Regions from separate parts of the Homo sapiens genome. Here region 1 is linked to region 2. The links are contacts of gene promoters, found by promoter capture Hi-C in blood cells and fetal thymus (Javierre and others, 2016). All regions are on one chromosome and are shown on one strand. Each heading gives the region's core, a stretch centred on a gene start or on the middle of the fragment in contact. The rest is flanking DNA. Distances are from core to core; before and after follow the strand shown. Region 1 has its middle 27 kb from the start of MUSK. Region 2 holds the start of LPAR1 (lysophosphatidic acid receptor 1).

What was found. The method cuts DNA at HindIII sites, captures the fragments that hold promoters and counts their contacts. A CHiCAGO score of 5 or more calls a contact.
Region 1: a fragment that was not itself captured here is called in contact with the fragment with the promoter of LPAR1 in region 2 in 3 of 17 cell types (M1 macrophages, M2 macrophages and M0 macrophages); the score reaches 12.9 in M1 macrophages.

Annotation. Positions count from the first base shown.
Region 1 is chr9:110,640,320-110,643,019 of GRCh38, reverse strand. No RefSeq gene overlaps it. Among named protein-coding and RNA genes, the nearest start is that of MUSK, 27 kb to the left of the region's middle. The HindIII fragment of the contact is 3,157 bases long and covers 1-2,700 here.
Region 2 is chr9:111,037,093-111,039,917 of GRCh38, reverse strand. LPAR1 (lysophosphatidic acid receptor 1) reads left to right here and starts at 1,448. Exons shown (of 6, transcript NM_001351411.2): 1 at 1,448-1,751. LOC124902248 (a long non-coding RNA gene) reads right to left here. Exons shown (of 2, transcript XR_007061732.1): 1 at 2,129-2,825; 2 at 1-463. RefSeq lists a silencer at 1,679-2,018. The HindIII fragment of the contact is 5,735 bases long and covers 1-2,825 here.

The DNA of each region.
Region 1 (2,700 bases), core at 141-2,640, 400 kb after region 2:
TGAGACAGGGTCTCACTCTGTCGCCAAGGCTGGACTGCAGTGGCGTGATCTCCGCTCACTGCAACCTCCACCTCCCAGGTTCAAGCAATTCTCATGCCTCAGCCTCCCAAGTAGCTAGGACTACAGGAGCACACCACCACGCCCAGCTAATCTGTATATTTTTTAGTAGAGACAGGGTTTCACCATGTTGGACAGGCTGATCTCGAACTCCTGACCTCAAAGTGATCAGCCTTCCTTGGCCTCCCAAAGTGCCATTATTGTTTTTAAAGTATAAGAATAAAATGTGCCTATATAGTATGGTTTGTACACATGCATATATGTAGAGAGAGAATACACTGAAATCTTTAGAATTTTCTCTCAGAGGTAGAAGAGCAGATAAATTTTAAATATTTTAGTATTTTAATTTTATATTTATATAAAAAGTTTCTACATTTTATATAAAATATATTTTTATATTCTTATTTTGTAATTGAATTTTCTGATTCCCCAAATTATTCACTATGATTATGCATTACTTTCAACTATACACATACATATATATAAAATTTATAAATAAACATTTACAGACAGTTTTTACATCTGTGCCCAGTTTTGCAGTTATGCTTACAACACTTTAGTCAACTTTACACATTATTCCTGCACTCATCAGTTCTTACATGTCACAAAACTATCTTGACTCGCGAATATTTTTTTTGAGATGGAGTCTCGCTCCATCGCCCAGGCTGGAGTGCAGAGGCGCCATCTGGGCTCACTACAACCTCTGCCTCCCGGGTTCAAGCAATTCTTCTGCCTCAGCTTCCCAGATAGCTGGGATTACAGGTGCCCATCACCACGCCCGGGTAATTTTTTGTATTTTTAGTAGAGACAGGGTTTCACCATGTTGGCCAGGCTGGTCTCAAACTCCTGACCTCAAGTGATCTACCCACCTCAGCCTCTCAAAGTGCTGGGATTACAGGCATGAGCCACTGTACCTGGCCTTGACTTGTAAATTTTGATTCATTTTTCTATTGAGTAAAATATTTTTCTTTCTTTTTCAGAAAGGGTACGTAGTAGCTGTTTTCTAAGGCTTTGTGTACGAAAAATTGTCTCCTAAAGACTCCACTTGTAAAAGGCAATAGATCGAATATAGTCTTTTCGTACTATTGACGGACATTCAATATTGCATGAGTTTGAAGCAAATCTAATTTTTGTACTATTGAAAGTCACCTTTTTAATTTTGTTTTTGCCTGGTTACTCCTACAGTGTTTCATTATCAAAATCGGAAAAACTTTGGTTCCATTTCTCACCAATTTTAGCCATTAAGACAGAGGCTTGTTTTAATTTGAAGGTCAGTGTCACCTGGAATAAGGGAATTCTGTGGTCACCCCTGGTGACTGCACCAAGGCTATGTATGCTGTCCCTCAGATCACACAAAGCTCAGGGTACTTGGCAGAGCTAGGGCTGTGACTCTGCAAGTAAAATTATAGATATTTGCTCTGACTAATTTAGTAATCATCCATGAAAAACGATGATGTGTAACCCATGAGTGGATCTTTCTAAATCCTACATTAGCTTTTCTCTGAGCCCCGTTAAGTTTTCATCATTTGAAGTTTGGCTTCAGTCAAAGGACCAACTGACTCAAAATAAGGATAACTGGATTTCAGCTATCATAGAGCATTGCAGCCCAGGAATGAATTATGGCTGTGCAAATCAATCCCTTGATGTCATGAAGGTAATTCTTGCCAAATTACATCAACTTTGCCCCCTCGACACAGCTTCTCTGTCTTGGTAGAGGAATACTGTCTATTCTCTAGACCATACCAGAGGCAAAAGTAGGACTATTTGTCAAGGAATATGCAAAATTTTCTGCTTTCAACTCCATCACTCCATGTAGCGTCAGGCATTCTGCACAGTCTATCATATACATTGCAAGTCTCCAGGGTAAGTGAGTGGGTTGGGGGTTGCACTTGAATTCACAACTGAATCTCTTCTCCTACCCCCACAGCTGCTGTTATCTTACTTTCTTGCAACAGCCTCTTCAATGAGACATCCTGTCAAACCTCAGCTGTAAGAGCCTCTCATCACTGTCACTTCTTCTATTGTTCTCTGTAATAATGTCACCAGGCCTGCCAAAAGGACTGTCTTCTAATACTCCTGAAGCTGTCAAAACAACTTCCACTGCAGATGTCTAGGTACTCCCACTGGGCACCCAGCCACAGGTGACAATCAATGCTATGTTAAGTCATTTTACAGAGTTCTAGGTAAAATCAGCACTTGAAGTTTTTATTTGCAGGCCTCTCTCTCTCTCTAACATAGTTGTGGAAATAAAACCACAAGCTGTAAGATGTTTTTACTGTGTGGGTTTGAAGCCTGGCTATATTACCTTGGGAAAGTAATTTAATCTCTTTCCTCCTTTCTAAAATGTTATAATAATAATAATACGTACCTCGTGTAGATGTTTTGATGAGTGAGTACACCTATCCCTTGCTTAAAGAGTTTAAATTATTCCAAAAACTTTGTCATTAATCGAATGGCCAAAATTTTTGAAAATCCACCAATTTAAATTGGAACTATTCTAGTCCAGTTAGGCAGCTTCCTAAATACTGAGCACATAAAGATATTCCGCATTCTTCTTTACAACATTTATACTATGGAATTCAGATCTCATTAATTCATCATATGTAATGCTGTCACAGACTGTGGTTAGGCTACAGTTTGAAG
Region 2 (2,825 bases), core at 199-2,698:
TTTTAAAAAAAAGATTAGAACCATTGTTTTTAAAAGGAAACAGCTTTAGATAGTAAATTATTTACAGCCAGGACTCAGCCCTGAGCATCCTGTGAAAACCACACGAGCTTGGTCAAGGTTCTAAGCAGTCACCGGTGGGAGATGGTCATGGTCCCGTCACAGCATAACTCACTTGAGGCTTGAAAAGTTTCCGTCCAGCTACGGTTTGCAGTGACCTTTCTCTTCTGCAAAGCCCACGGTTACCTGGTGGCCACCACCAACATAGCCCCGCCTCGCTGTCCTGCGTTTCTCTCAATCAGATCAGTCCTGCCGAGTCCCCATGCCTTACTGCTGGTGTGCTGTGTCCTCTGTGCCATTTCAAGGCGAGGGCTCATGAAACTTTTACTCACACGCTGCTATTTTTGATATGCGGTGGCCTTAGCTGTGGAGCGAGAGGCCGATAATTGTGATCACTCCGGAAATCCTGGGAAGCCAGAAGTGGGAGATGGGTGTTGTGAGGTGGCGTGGCTAGGGAGACCCCATCGAGTGGGTGTGTTATAAGACCTGGGCGAATCCCTGTGGCTGCCACTCTCCTGAGAATGTTCCCTAGGCCTTAGTCCCGCGCCGCTCCCACCCACACCTCCAGGTGTGCAGTCCCCGCCCTTAATTACTCTCACTAAAATTGATAGTTTACACTTGCAAAGCTACACTGGGAAAGCGGAAGAGAAATTTATAATCGTGGATATGGAGAACTAGGGGAGCAGACACACTTGCTTTCGTTTACAGATCCAGTGAAGTGAAAAATCAGAACTAGAAACGTATGCACCTTCCTAGCAGCAAAGCCGCTTCTGCGTTCTTCGCAGCCTCCAGTGCAGGGCGGCGCTGGGAGAAACTTTGCGCCTTCTGGAAAGTTTAGAAAGTGAGCCACGAAAGAGAGGCCACATTTCCGGGGTTTTGCGGGCCCCGCGATGTTTTCCAGAGCTTTTCGAGTGGGAAGAGGAGAGCGACAACGTGAAAATGCCCCGTGCCGGGGCGTCCACCGGAGTCCTGCCAGCTGTCCGGCGCTGGGGTAAGCGCAGGAGGGGCGGGGGTGGGACCCGAGCTGGCGGCCACGGGTCTCCCGCTGCGGGTGTGTCGACTCGGGGGCGGGGCGGGGGAGGCTGCTGAGATAATGAATGGGAGGCTAAGGCCACCCCCCAGCCCCGGCCCTGCCACCACCGTGGGCTGTCGAGCCAATGAATGGAGGAGGGGGCGCAGAGGTCAGGGGCGCTGGGGGCGCCACACCAGGTAAGGGGTCCAGCTTGGGAGCGGGGAGGGCGGACTCTGGGGGTTCGGGTGTTGCTGACTTGTGCTACGTGGAACAAGCAGAAAAGAAGGAAGGCGGAGGAAGAGAGGAGGCTGGCGTCGGCGCTGCTCCTCTGGCCCTCCCTCTGCGCCCCCTCCTCCTGCCAGCGCGCCAAAGCCGGGCAGTAGGGGCCGACTGGCGGCTGACGCTCCCTGAGTGGCGACTCCGTCTCCAGCCCCGCTGCGGAGCGCGGGCCGGATCTGGGGCGGCCAGGGCCCGGAGCCGCGGAGCCCTCCCCGCCGCCCGGCCGAGCACGGGACCCCGGCGGGGTGGGCGCAGGGGGCGGCCCCGCTCTGGGCGACTGCCGAGGGGCGGGCGGAGGGCCGGGCTCGGCTGGCGGTGGGGCGGGGGCCGCCGGGACTGGGCGCGCGGCCTGAAGCCAGCCCGGGGGCGGCAGGAGAGGGACGCGCGGCGGCAGCGAGCGCAGGTAAGGGGGCCGGCGCGGCGTGTGGGGACGGCGCCCCCTGGGCGCGAAGCCAGAGGCCGCGGCGACTGCTCGGCCCGCCACACGGCGCGCTGGGCTCACACTGTCCCGCCGCGGACGGGCTTTGTGGTTGGGGGCGCGCGTGCGAGTGCCAGTGAGAGTGTGGGTGCGCGCTGTGGGCCGCGGCGCGGGTGGGTGGCCGTGCGTTCTTGCGAGCCGGCCTGCAGGAGGCGAGGCTCCCCTGGCCTCCCGCACCCAGCGGCGGACCGAGCCCCTGGAGGGAAGTTGCCGCAGCCGCCCGGGCCGCCGGCCCTCCTGTCCCGCGCCAGGTCAGTGCGCCCCGGGGCCCGCCCAGTGACACGTAGGTGGCCTCCGGTTACCTGGGTCGGGGTGGGTGCGCGGGAGGGCTTGCGAGGGGCCCTCGAAATTCTCCCAAAACCTCGTCCCGCTGGACTTGCACCTCCGAGGGGTCCCTGCGCCCCTGGGGCTCCGCACCTCTCGCTTCCCACTGACGACTCGGTTGTCCCCCACCACCGGGCTGAGGACTTTTAACTAAGTTTCTGTCCAGCCGCCTAACAAACGTGCTTAACAAGTAACAGGAGGTTGTAAGGCAAGGGAGGGACCTGGCTTTGAAAGTTGATGGTTTTGAAATCGACGGCTCCTTTGACTTGCGTAGGACTCCTTTGTGGTGAATGGATTTAAAGTTTATTCTTGTTTTTCTTTGCTGCCATTTGGTCTTTGCAATGTTAAGAGTGAAGGCATTCAGGACTTGCTGCTGCCTGCTGTCTGGGGCCTGAGGTTGTGGCTCTCCGCTTCTGCTCTCCTCTCTTCATTTTTGTTGAAATCCGTGGATTTTTTCATAAATGTGGGTGCTGGCTTGTTTCACTATGGACGCGTCGTTTCCTATGGGGTTAGATAGATATTGGTAAACATAAATATTGAAAATGTGATGATCACATATTGATGATCACAGCGAAATCCTCTATTCCTTCAGGCTCTAACAGTTTGTTTTTCACGTATTTGCATAAGTGTGTTTGCTCAGCTAAGCATAATTGGTAAGCCAGAGGTCTGTGATTC